3 separate regions of the Homo sapiens genome follow, and all the other regions are linked to region 1. The links are contacts of gene promoters, found by promoter capture Hi-C in human tissues and cell types (Jung and others, 2019). All regions are on one chromosome and are shown on one strand. The core of a region is centred on a gene start or on the middle of the fragment in contact, and the rest is flanking DNA. Distances in the headings are between cores, read along the strand shown. Region 1 holds the start of MYH2 (myosin heavy chain 2). Region 2 overlaps MYH8 (myosin heavy chain 8). Region 3 holds the start of MYH13 (myosin heavy chain 13).

What was found. The method cuts DNA at HindIII sites, captures the fragments that hold promoters and counts their contacts. A contact is called where the count stands out against the background at its distance.
Region 2: a fragment that was not itself captured here is called in contact with the fragment with the promoter of MYH2 in region 1 in 2 of the 25 tissues and cell types used here (liver and mesendoderm cells).
Region 3: the fragment with the promoter of MYH13 here is called in contact with the fragment with the promoter of MYH2 in region 1 in 4 of the 25 tissues and cell types used here (hippocampus, mesendoderm cells, pancreas and 1 more).

What each region holds. Positions count from the first base shown.
Region 1 is chr17:10,546,633-10,551,006 of GRCh38, forward strand. It overlaps MYH2 (myosin heavy chain 2), which reads right to left and starts at 3,026. Exons shown (of 40, transcript NM_017534.6): 1 at 3,004-3,026; 2 at 2,743-2,785; 3 at 1,085-1,308; 4 at 843-986. The coding sequence starts at 1,288. The region is part of intron 2 of MYHAS (myosin heavy chain gene cluster antisense RNA); the gene reads left to right. The HindIII fragment of the contact is 30,725 bases long and covers 1-4,374 here.
Region 2 is chr17:10,398,927-10,403,262 of GRCh38, forward strand. It overlaps MYH8 (myosin heavy chain 8), which reads right to left. Exons shown (of 40, transcript NM_002472.3): 23 at 2,617-2,859; 24 at 2,349-2,525; 25 at 2,120-2,265; 26 at 1,943-2,033; 27 at 1,464-1,853; 28 at 617-743. All of the region lies in intron 1 of MYHAS (myosin heavy chain gene cluster antisense RNA), which reads left to right. Among named protein-coding and RNA genes, the nearest start is that of MYHAS, 18 kb to the left of the region's middle. RefSeq lists an enhancer at 1,583-2,782. The HindIII fragment of the contact is 4,137 bases long and covers 1-3,799 here.
Region 3 is chr17:10,371,050-10,375,292 of GRCh38, forward strand. It overlaps MYH13 (myosin heavy chain 13), which reads right to left and starts at 1,957. Exons shown (of 41, transcript NM_003802.3): 1 at 1,930-1,957; 2 at 160-210. The HindIII fragment of the contact is 16,892 bases long and covers 1-3,606 here.

The sequences.
Region 1 (4,374 bases), core at 1,776-4,275:
CAGAAAGGAAAGGACAGAACATCTCACTGCTTGGGGAAGTGGGAGAGGTTTCATCGAGGAGGTGACATTCCAGATAGAAGGGACCAGAACACACAGATACAAATTGCTGTTATTTCAGGGGATTGAAAATGAGTGAAATTTGTTTTTAAAAAAAAAAAAAATGTAGGCCAGGCATGATGGCTTATGCCTGTAATCCCAGCACTTTGGGAGGCCAAGGCAGGCGGATCATTTGAGCCCAGGAGTTCGAGACCAGTCTGGGCAACATAGTGAAACTCTGTCTCTGCTAAAAAAAATACGAAAAAAAAAAAAATAGCCGGGCATGGTGGCACATGCCTGTAATCCCAGCTACTCTGGAGGCTGAGGCACAAGAATCGCTTGAACCCACGAGGCAGAGGTTGCAGTGAGCCGAGATCGCACCACTGCACTCCAGCCTGGGACACAGAGCAAGACTCTGTCTCAAAAAAAAATTAAAATAGTTTAAAGTGTTAAAACATGTTTATCTTTTCACTCTGGATGATTCTGCGGCTGGAGTGGGGAAAAGGAATGGGGAAAATTACCTGTGATTGAAATATAAGTAGTAACTGCTCAAATGCCTATTGAAGGGTTTCTGGGCAAACCTAGTCAACATGGACAGCGGCCTTCCCCAGCTTTGGATGGGAAAACAAGGAAGTGCTGGCTGTTGAGCTGTGCTTTACGATAGCAATCATGAAGCCTTTTAACTAGTTATGCTGCAATGAAAGTGAAATGGGTCACTACCTGTGACCTATTTATGCTCAGTGGAAGAAGCAGGATGGTAGGGTACATGAGGATGATTATACAGAGCACTGGCAGGGGACACTCACGTAGATCATCCAGGCTGCATAACGTTCTTTGAGGTTGTACAGCACAGCAGGCTCATGCAGATGAGTCATCATGGCCATATCCTCGATCTTGTCATATTTGGGAGGGTTCATGGGGAAGACCTGATCATCCTTCACTGTCAGAGTCTGGTAAACAGGAAAGATAACCGTTTACATTAATTGAGTGACCAAACAACAACAACAAAAATCAATAAAATGTGGCAAGCTCCTGGGATTCTACTCACCGCTCCTCCCTCAGTCTTCACCGTCACTTTTCCTCCTTCTCTGCTCTGGATGGTCCCTTTGACAAAGGATTCTTTGGGCTCCGCCACAAAGACAGATGTTTTGGCATCAAAGGGCCTATTCTGGGCCTCAATGCGCTCCCTTTCAGACTTTCGGAGGAAAGGAGCAGCCTCCCCAAAAACAGCCAATTCTGAGTCTGAACTCATGGCTGCTGAACTCAGAGGTCCTAAAGGAGATAAAACTTTCACATTAGAGAGTCTGGATTGCCATGTATACCAATAAATCTTAATATTTATTGTATTTCATAGGCCCAGTTGGAAATTCCACTAGACAGGTCTACTGTTCACCATACTATAGTTACTGAGACAAACATAATCACAAGAACGAAAATGCATCAGGTGGTCTCTGTGTACCCAATGCCGTATTTAGGGCTTTGCATCCACTGTCTTATTTCATCCTCCAGGACTCACATTCTCATTGGGAACTGAATTACAGTCCAGTGCTGCTGTCAAGTAGCTTGTGACCTTGGGTATGTCACTTGATGTTTTTGAGCCTAAGTGACTCCATCTTTAGAATAGGGATTATAAATTCTGCCTTTCTAAATTCACAGCCCATGATATATGTGAAGATACTTTGAAAAAGAGGTTTAAATGATGACTGAGAAAGTAATTTGAAATTGTTCAGGCCACCATTTATATATGAGATGTCATGAATTATCATGTCACAAAATTCCATGTCTTGAATGTAATGTAGAAGAACTTTATTTCCTCCTTTACCTGTTCAGCCAGATTTGTTGAAGTTCAGTGGCTTATTGGAGATTATAATTTTGTTTACCTTTTTTTCTTTTAGGTTAGGTGCTTAGTATAGTTTCTCTGACATAATTTTTTGCATATTAAATACAGTTCATCAGTTTAACCCCCTTAAACTAATTAGGGATAAAAACAGTAGCCAACGTTAACCTCATTCTTCTACATCTAAGGGCTCCCTTTACTATTCCAAATTTTCCTTTGAAGCATGCAGGCCCTGTTTGCTCCGTTCTATGTGATCTGTAGGTTGCCAGTGGTATCAGTAGAATGAAAGGTTTGGCAAATAATTCTACCGCAGTCATTACATGATCAAATTACTTGAAACTCATTTGAATCGTCTCTTCTAGTCTCTCCCTTTAGAAATGCAGTAAGTAGTGGGAGGGCAGATTAATACCTCTATTATATATAAGAAAAATGCCACAGCACTCGGCATTGTGTAAGGTGACTTTTTACAAGGGCTTTAAGAAGTTTAAAGAAAGGATTGTCTTACTTCCATTTTACATTGTTGGACATTATGTTTACTAAATGAATTCTAACAGCAGGATACATTTTTATCAAATTTGAGATTTTTAGCCAGGGAATCTGAGGGTAGACTCTTTTTTTCCTGCACAGACAATATATTTATTCAAAGCGATTCCCCTGCTCAAATGTCACCCCACCAATGCTTGAGCCGTAAATGAGGATGTGTGCATTGTCCTGAAAGGACAGTCCTCCCTTTCTCACCGCTTTCCTGAAGCACAGTTGTTAAAGGGTATTTACTGAGACAAGCACTTTCTGAAAGGTTGCTAAGTGACAGAAATCCATCCCAGAGCCTCTTGCATTCTCCTCCAGGAACTGGTTAGTCCAAATCTTACCTTGTTAGCAAGTGAGAAGATGTAGCCTGGGAGTGAGACAGTTCTATAAAAGAAAAGGGAAAAGCACTTGATTAGTTGACCAAAAAGAGGGGGAAAAAATCCCATTTATGGCATGGCTTGCTATTGTAAACAGAAGTAACAAAATTCATAGAGGTAAAACGTGCAGTTCCAGAAGGAGCAGTACCAGAACTAGCAGCTGCTGCTGACACTGGGCGGTGTGACCAGTGTCCCTCTTGAAAGGCCCGTCCTGCTCCCACTTACCTTGGAGCTTTTTAAAGCAGGACGAGTCAGCCTCATTCCAAGGGCTCTTTTATATGGATAGCTATGGAAACAATGCAGCTGCCTCTTCTTTCTTAAGTCAAAAGGAATTGTTTGGCAAAATACCTCTTGGCAATCTAGCGTCCCCGCATAATTCTCATTCATATTAAGAATGGTTGGATATAATTAGAAATATTTTTCTTATTGAGTATGTGGATAAATCTCCTATGGATAATTTGAGAAGATGATCTGAAAGAGTCAAGCTGGTGGATAAAGGCAGTGGCTGGGCAGCCAGGATACCTGGCTTCCCTCGGAACTTCTTTTTGGCTTTGCTGGGCACAGCATTCGGGCTTGCCTCGCATCACTTTCGCATATTTCACGTGTTAAGTCACATAAATAAAATACAAATATGTATTTTAATTTTGTGACAGTTAATTTTTACCTGTTGGTCCTTTCTTTCCAGCCCTGCAAAATTAAGCGATGTGCCTTCAACAACTTAAAGAGACAGAAGGTCCTCTCTGTTATTCCAATATTCCTGTAGTTTCAGGAATTTCCTTGCTCGCTCACCTTTTTGCTTTTGCCAAAGTTGTTCCCTCTACTTAGCACACCATTTCCTGTCCCCCTACCCATTTGACTTGCCTGAAATAAAAAAGGTTGAATATTTTCTAGTAGCAGAGGTGTTTTTAGAGAGTACTTTTCAACATTTTTTCGTGTCATAGCCCGCTGAGAAAAAAATGACAATATTAGTGTAGCATGCTAGAGTAATGTGGAAGGGATTTGTCTATATCTGTAAAGGGCTTGGGGAGAATATTTTTAATTTTTTTACATTCCTTTATGTAATATAAATATAATAACTATGATACACATAGCATTAAGGAAAATATTAAATACTGAATATGTCGGAAACTTACAAATAATATCTTCTTGAAAATCCTAAGGAAAAATTTGAGCTATATCCTACAAATAAAACTTGTTTGTTTCTGACTTTATTCTTGAAATATGACACAAATTTCCAGATCAAATTTTCAAAAATGATACAAACAGTATCTGTGTTCTTGATAATTACCATAGCGGGGATTTTTGTCCAAGAAGGAGGGATGAAAATGGAAAACCAAGTAATTTACAACTGTTGGAGTATTTTAAAAATTCACCAGTTCTTCTTTCTCCTTCATTGAAAAATATAATGTTGAATATTCTCGTACAGTGAAAATAAGTTTTTAATCCATTTAAACTCTCTCTTTCATATCAAATATTTCAAAGGATAATGAAGCTCTAATCTTCAAAAACTTCATGGGTTAAAGGAGTCATCAGCATTGGTCAAAGGGCACACCAGTCACAAATACACACAAGTACCTGATCTATTCAAAGTCTAAG
Region 2 (4,336 bases), core at 481-2,980, 150 kb before region 1:
AAATAAGCCTAAACCTTTTACATTTATATATGTGTGTGTGTATATATATATGTATATATGTGTGTGTGTATATATATATATATATATATATACAAGTTGTATATACCTTACCTGAAATGCTTGGGACCAGAAGTGTTTCAGATTTCAGATTTTTGTTTGATTTTAGAATATTTGCATTACACTTGCCAGTTCAGCATCCCTAATCCGAAAATCTAAAATCTGAAATGCTGCAGTGAGCATTTCCTTTGGACATCATGTCAGCCCTCAGTTTTGAATTTTGGAGCATTTCAGATTTTTGATTTTCAGATTAGGGATACTCAACCTGTGTGTGTGTGTGTGTGTCTGTTTGTGTGTGATGTGTTTAATCTACACTTCATCTGCTTCTAAGTATTTTTTTAGCACTGGTTAGAACCGGAGATTTAAAAGCAGCATTGCCATAGAAGTGTTGTAAGTAAACTTGTCTGCTCAGTCTTGACTTCTTTCCTTTTTGACCTTCTTAGCAAACTCTGATCATTTGTTTATCTTTCTCTAAAGTGGGAATATTGCTATTTATTAGAACCCCTAGAATCCATTTTATTTAGTCCATGGTGTTGGGACCCAGAGAAGATGTCTTTACCCGCTTCTGTCTGCAGGCGCGCTCTCTGTGCTGTGAGGTCATTGATCAGCCGCTGCTGCTCCTCTTCCTTGGTCTTAAGCTCACTCACTTGATCTTCTAGAGAGCGGCACATCTTTTCAAGGTTTCCCTACAGGATATGTAGCAATGAAAGATGAGACATTGAATGCAATAAAAAGGTTAAAACTTGATTCTTAAAATATTTGTAGAGTAAATAAATTCATGTCAAGTGTGAGTAGAAAGTTAGGACATCAACTCTGTGGAACATGCAAGAATTTAGGCATGGCGAGTGCATAGTGTGCCTAAACTGGTCATTGTTGGAGACCATTTATTCCAATGATATTGACGCTTGCTTAAAGTGGATTTTGAAATCATCTTAATAGGCCGGGCGCGGTGGCTCATGCCTGTAATCCCAGCACTTTGGGAGGCCGAGGCGGGCGGATCATGAGGTTAGGAGATCGAGAGCATCCTGGCTAACACGGTGAAACCCCGTCTCTACTAAAAATACAAAAAATTAGCTAGGCGTGCTGGCGGGCGCCTGTAGTCCCAGCTACTGGGGAGGCTGAGGCAGGAGAGTGGCGTGAACCCGGGAGGCGGAGCTTGCAGTGAGCCGAGATTGCGCCACTGCACTTCAGCCTGGGCGACAGAGTGAGACTCCATCCCCCCGCTCCAAAAAAAAATCATCTTAATCGATCATAACCAGCATTTTAAAAAATACCATAGAATGGGATATATTTGGTTAGAAAATATTTGAGTAGTGCTGTAAAATGCCTGCAAACAATGTTTAGTGATAGAGAATAATGGGTGTTCTTACAGATGATTACCTTCATTTAGAGACAGTATTGGGTACCTTGGCTTTGGAAATGGCCTCTGCGTTACTGCTGAGGTCATCAGTCTCCATCTTCAGCTCACTCTTCTCCTTCTCCAGCTTCTGTTTGACCCGCTGCAAGTTGTCAATCTGCTCCCCAAGCTCAGCCATACTGTCTGCGTGCTTCTTCCGAAGAGCAGCCACCATAGCTTCATGCTGCAGGGTGGCCTCCTCCAGGTCCCTGCGCAGTTTCTGAAACTCAGCCTCCCGCTTCTTGTTCAATTCCACCTGAGCAGAAGTTGCCCCACCGGCTTCTTCCAGCCTCTCGCTGATCTCCTCCAGTTCCCGGGAGAGGTCAGAGCGCTGCTTCTCCGCTTTGGCTCGGGACGCCCTCTCTGCCTCGATTTCTTCCCCCAGCTCCTCAATGCGGGCCTGGGAATGAAAGAAGCACATAAACATAAACTCATCTCAACTTCAGTGTTTTTTTGGTGTGCAGAAAAAATAGAGGTGAGATGACTCACCTGCAACTCTTTGATCTTCTTCTGTAGTTGAATTTCTACAGCTTGCTCATCTTCAATTTTGCTTATCAAATTGCTGATTTCAAATTCTTTCCTTTAGACAGAAGAGCAAGACGTATTAATACTCATGTGAATTGAAAGATGATATCACATAGAAGTTTTTTTCTAAAAGGCTCCTACTTTTCAAGCTTTTCATCAAGTTGCTGTTTGTCATTTTCCATATCCATTGTGGATTCTTGGGCCAATTTGAGGTCACCCTCCAGTTTCCGCTTTGCTCTTTCTAGATCCATTCGAAGCTTCTTTTCTTGTTCCAGAGACCCTTCAAGCTAATAAGAAAGTAAATATGGTAAAAATTGAAAGTATATATTTTTAAAAAAATCTTTCAAAGGGATATTTAAAATGTGCTTACATCATCCACTTGCTGTTCTAGCTTGGTTTTAGCTTTGGTCAGGATGTTGACTTTGTCCTCCTCTGCCTGCAGGTCATCCAGGGTCTGCTGGTGGGTCTCTTGGAGAGCCTTCTTCTCCTTGGACAGTTTTGCAATGGTTTCATCCAGGCCTGCCATCTCTTCTGTAAGATTTTTCACCTACAAAGGTTAAGAAAGAGATTATTTCTCCTATAAAGCAATTTAGTTGGTGGCAGAACCTCTATACAGTATTGTAAAATATGACTGATACCTTGTTCTCCGTGGCATGTTTCTCCTTCTCAACCTTGGCCAGTGTCAGCTCAAGGTCATCAATGTCTTTCTTGAGTTCTGAACATTCATCCTCCAGTTTTCTCTTCTTGGCTGTCAGCTCAGCATTGATCTCTTCCTCCTCCTCAGCTCTTTCAGTCACCTCTTTGATTTTGGCCTCAAGTTGGATTTTGTTTTTAATCAGTTGCTCACACCTTTCCTCTGCATCAGCCAAGCTATCTGCTTCCTATGGAGAGATTCATTCAGATACTTAGAGTCTGTTACTTATTTTGAAACTTGGTGTTTTTTTTGCGCAAAAATAATAGTGTTTTATTGAATTCTGTTGAATTTTTCAGTATGAATATAAATTTAATTTAATCGAACATTATTACATGGTCTGGAGAAATGCAGCTTATTGGAAGTGAGACTATAGCTTTAGAAGCAAACTAGTTTGCAAAGTTATTGGATTGGAGCTATTGATTATTTAAAAAATAATTTGTAGAAGAGTGGAAAGACCTCTAAATCGGGCAAAAGGAAGCCTGGGTTCTTGTCCCAATATTGTTTGCATATGTATGACTTTGGGCAAATTGCTTTATTCCTTTCATTCTCAATTTTGTGTATATATATATATGGGTTGGAATAAATGATTGCCAAGAGCTTTTCAGCTGTAATATTTAAAGATTTTGATTTAGTTAAATTGGTTAGTTTTGGTTTTGATCATTCCCTGTCCCCCTCAAACCAATAATTGCTAGGCTGTATTGAAGAAAGAAAAAGAAGAAAAATAATTTAAATACATTTCCATGTAGTATTTTTTAATACACTAAAACCTTCCTGGTAGTTCATACAGTGCTATAATTGTTCAAAATTTACATTTCCATTTACAGAATTACCCATTAGTCTTAAGGTGAATTTTATTTTTTGGAACTTTTACCCCAACTTTTATTTTGAAAACTGTTAAACTTACCGAATAGCTGTATGAATAATACAATAAATTGCCATATACCATTTACCTAAATCCTCGTATTTTTAACATTTTACTGTTTTTTCTCTCTCTAAACACACACATAGACACATATATAGGCACATGTGCACGCACACACACACACACACTCTCCTAAATCATTTGAAAGTAAATGGCAGATATCATATTTTAGCATTTCTCTCCTAAGGACATGAACATTCTCCTATATAACTACAATACTGTTATTACAAATGAAAATATTAATCACTGATACAATAATATTATCTAATATACAGTCTATATTCAGATTTCCCCAGTGTAACAAAAATGTTCTTTAAGTTTTGTGGTTTCATTGTTTCATTTTTATACACAACATGGGCAATAGGCCTAAACTGCAACATAATTTTCAGAGAGTTGTACCATTGACTAGGCTAGAGGTTCTCATGCCCAGGACAATTCTAGTTAAGGAAAGATTGATGAACTGTTCTTAGCCCTTTCTGCTTTTGTGTTTTTGTTTGCTTTTGTTTTCCCATTCCCTTCTAAATCTGGTTAATGTGGAAAGTCTATGTTGAGCCCCTGAAATTTTGAAAATGTTCAAACCCATATGTCAAGTTAGGAAAAAAAAATAGAATGAACAGTGATATGTTATGAACCTAGATTTACCAGTTGCTAAGTTATGCCACATTTGCCTTGTCCATTCCATTTGTGGCCCTCTCCCCTCTCCCAATAATTATCAAAATGAATTTTAGAATATATGAGAAAA
Region 3 (4,243 bases), core at 707-3,206, 180 kb before region 1:
TGTATATATTTTAAAATCTACCTTTAAGAATAGTTAAGTTATTGGTTTCAAACTCATCAATTTCGTCTTCTTATGAGTGTGGCAAGAATGAGAACGTGTAAAATGATGTTTGCTAATTTCAATGATTGCATTCATGATCAAGCTGAAAATAACCCTTACCTTCTTGGTTCCCAAGTGACAGTCAGTGTCCTTCAGGAATAAAGCGTCTTCCTGGGGATAATTTGAGAAAAAAAAACAAACCAAAAAAACCCAAATGAGCTACAAAGAGTTTAAATAAATATAGAAACCATGTTTGTTCCAGTTTATCTACCTTAAATAGATACACAGTAGATGGTGTGGAATGAAATAAATTTGCTGTTTTGAATTTTTACTTTTGATTAAAATCATTATTCTTTAAATAGTTGGTTAATTACAACATTTAATTAATACTCTCTTGAGAAACTTCTGTGTGTACAATGTACTGTGTCAGCTCCTTAAGGGGGTATGAAGAGGAAAGTACAGTATCTGCCCTATAGGAATGCAAAAGTTAGTAAGGGATAAGAGAATGCTCAAGTAAGTCTTTGAACAGGATTAAGACAAATTTTTAAGGAGTCTAAACAAAGTACTATGGGAACTTAGAGAAACCGCTTCTGACTGGGGGGCTGTGAGGGGTCAGGGAAGAAAGAAAGTAGGGAGGGGAATGCTCCAGATTGCAGCTTGGATGCTTAGGGGCAGTCACCTTTTTTTGGCAATAGGAGAAAAGTTATAAATTGTGGACAAAGACTTCTTTATTCTCTTCAATGCTCTAAATTCCTCCTGCAGATGATGAAGGTAGGGCAGCTGAAAAGTCACCTGGGACTAAGGAATCTCAGCTCTAGGAGTTTATAAACTACGTGGCTATCTCAAGGAGGCATGAGTGTCTGAAAAATTTTCAATATCAAATGTAATCTAAGCAAACTTCCCAATTACCATTCAGTGCTTTTATGGAGCCAGGGGAATATTTCATGAAGCCCTATTTAGGCAGGAACAGACACTTAGGATTTGGTTTACTATCCTTGTTGCCTCCTTCCTTCTCCGTCTTTAATGCATCTTAAATAATCTCCAGTTATATCCTAAAATTCTCACAATTTCTTAAAAAATTAAAGTATTACATACTATATTCTGAATCCTCAATTTAAAAAAATATGGAGGCAGAGCTACAGAAATTCTAATATCAGTTCTGTTAAGTAGCTGGTATGATTTCTTTGGGTTTCTGTTTCCTTCCGTAAAATGAATCAGATGCACCAGAAAATCTCCAAGATTCCTTTCAGCCCTATGAGTCTATAACAGACAGTTCTCCGTAGAGATGGTGGCCTGAATTCAAAGTATCACAAATCTCTGAGGGATGCTATTGCACTGTCAGACACAGTCCAGTCCCAAGTCCATAAAATATGCCATGTGAGAACAGTCTGCAAACCAGTCAATTCATATCAGACTATGACACTTTGTAAGATGGGTAAGATGCTTGGGATTATTTCCTCCCACAACCATTTTTCAGAAATCCTGACATGGGAAACAAATTAAATAAACATAAAAATTTCAAATAATAGCTTAAGCAATCACAGAAGAGATACCACAAGTTACCAAGTTAATTTGCTAACTGAACAGTATAACATTGACCTAAATAATCAGAGGAGGAATCATGCATTATACTCAGTTTTGTTCTGCAGGTGAATATTTTTTGTCTTATAATTGCTTATATTCTTGTCTTTTCACCCCTTGTAAAAGTTTCTTGAAAGGCAGTTGTCTTGTCTTTCCATCTTGTCTCCAACCTTGCCCTCAACACAAGACCTTGCACTTAGTAGGCCCTCCGTAAAGGCTACTTTATTGTCTTCCCCCCTTGACTGGTAACCTGATCAGGTGCAACTATAGCTACGTGGAGCAAAAAAGTGAGCACTTGTGAGCACTTACCTAGAGATGCTGCGGTCACAGCAATTTCAGGAGTGTGACCCCCCAGCTCTCTTTATACTCCCAAATCTGCCAGCCCAGCACTCTAACTTGGCTATATTTGGGGGAGCACCATTTACTTGTTAGATGTAAATGCGTCGTAGCCCTGATCTCTCACTCTTGTTAAGTTACTTGGATAAATGACCAGTGGAGGCTGCATAATGCCAAGTCAGCTGCATAGGGATTTTGACGTTGGACACAGATCTTTGAGACTTAGAGAGTCCTAGGGGCTGAGTGGAACTGGAGCAGAGTGTGCTAAGAAGGTCACTGAAGGGCAGAACCACAGGATGCTTTGTCAAGCAATGGGTGATCAGTAGTGTGGACAGTAACTACACCTCATTTACCCAGCATTGGTATGGGATGGTGTGCTTCTCATCTCAGAAATCTCTGGAAATTTAAGGTTGACCTTTTAACACATCCAGTCTTATTTATGTATTTGTTTGTTTAAAAATCTACTGGAAGAAAAGCTTTCCAAAATGTATTTTACATTATCCTGCTCTGTGTAACCTACTATCTTGAATAGAATTTAAGTTTTTCTTGATCACTCTGGGGGTCTGGGAGATGATATAATAAAGTCATCAAGGATCTGGTTCTTAGTGGATCATGCCTGCACTAATTGTTCCTGCTGTGAATTTTGGTGTATACTTTTATTTATTATTATTATTATTATCGAAACAGAGTCTTGCTCTCTCCTCTAGGCTGGAGTGCAGTGGCGTGATCTTGGTTCGCTGCAAACTCCATTTCCCAGGTTCAAGCAATTCTCTTGTCTCAGCCTCCCAAGTAGTTGGGATTATAGGCATGTGCTATAATCCCATGTGTTATATATAGGCATGTGCTATAATCGCCCAGCTAATTTTTATATTTTTAGTAGAGACAGGGTTTCACCATGTTGGCCAGGGTGGTTTCGAACTCCTGACCTCAAGTGATCCTCCCGCCTCGGCCTCCCAAAATGCTGGGATTACAAGTGTGAGCCACCACACTTGGCCTTACTTTTTAGATTTTCTGTCTTTGCCTTCATGGCCAGCCTCTCAGGTATAATTTCTTTCTGTGGTAAGTTTGTCTTTACTAGCCTGATTTTGTATTATTGATTGGGAAAGAGATTACAAAATTAAGATCAGGCTAAAGTAAGAGTAAATAAGTTCTGAGTGCAGCTCTAGTGGGTTCTAATGAAAATACGTGGACTTTGTGACAATTATAGTTACTTAGGAGTTTTTTTATTTTTTGCTAAAATATAAGTGATGTTTGACTATGTAGGAACAACTGTATATGTAGAAGTTAGAGCCATTTACTGCAATACAGTGTGATCTGTTTAAATTGTATATAATCAGTGTTTGTTGAATCAAAGTTTCCTTAATCAGTCTCCAGTGGGTAGAATTTCATGTAGGTAGGGCATTTCCAAAAGATAGTTTGCATTAATCAAAGTGAATTTTAGACCAGAGGAGGAGCAGGTAGAGATAGGACTTCCACAAAGTATTTTCTCTTCCTTCCTTCCTTCCTTCCTTCCTTCCTTCCTTCCTTCCTTCCTTCCTTCCCTCCCTCCCTCCCTCCTTCCTTCCTTCCTTCTTTCGTTCCTTTCTTTCTTTCTCTCTCTTTCTTTCTCTTTCTTTCTTTTTTTTTTTTGAGACAGAGTTTTGCTCTTGTTGCCCAGGCTGGATTGCAATGGCGCGACCTCCGCCCACCACAACCTCCGCCTTGTGGGTTCAAGCGATTTTCCTGCCTCAGCCTCCCGAGTAGCTGGGATTACAGGCATGTGCCACCAGGCCCAGCTAATTTTGTATTTTTAATAGAGACGGGGTTTCACCATGTTGGTCAGGCTGGTCTCGAACTCCCGACCTCAGGTGATCCGCCTGCCTTGGCCTCCCAAAGTGCTGGGATTACAGGCATGAGCCTGGCTTCCACAAAGTATTTTCTAAAGTAGATTTGACAGAATGCAGATTGGGAGGGTCGCTTCGAAATAAATGGTCCTGTGGTTAAATGAGCTTAAGAAATGTGTTAAACTCTATTCCCTCCTGTTAGAGATTCATCATAAATATTAGCATATTAAGGGATGTGAGAAGCCCTTCAGTAAAGAAATATGAATACTTTTTTTTTAGACCTGGAACTTCCCTAGGTGATTTGATGTTGGAACACAAACTTATTTATTTCCTGTTCCAGAAAACAAGAGAGGAAAGGCTGAAGGACATAATCCATAGCAAAGTTCTGGCCCAGAAGAAAGCAACCGAGAGTGATCAGCCCTAAGCACAGTTGCTTTTATTTGAGGTGCAGCCTTTTGCATGTA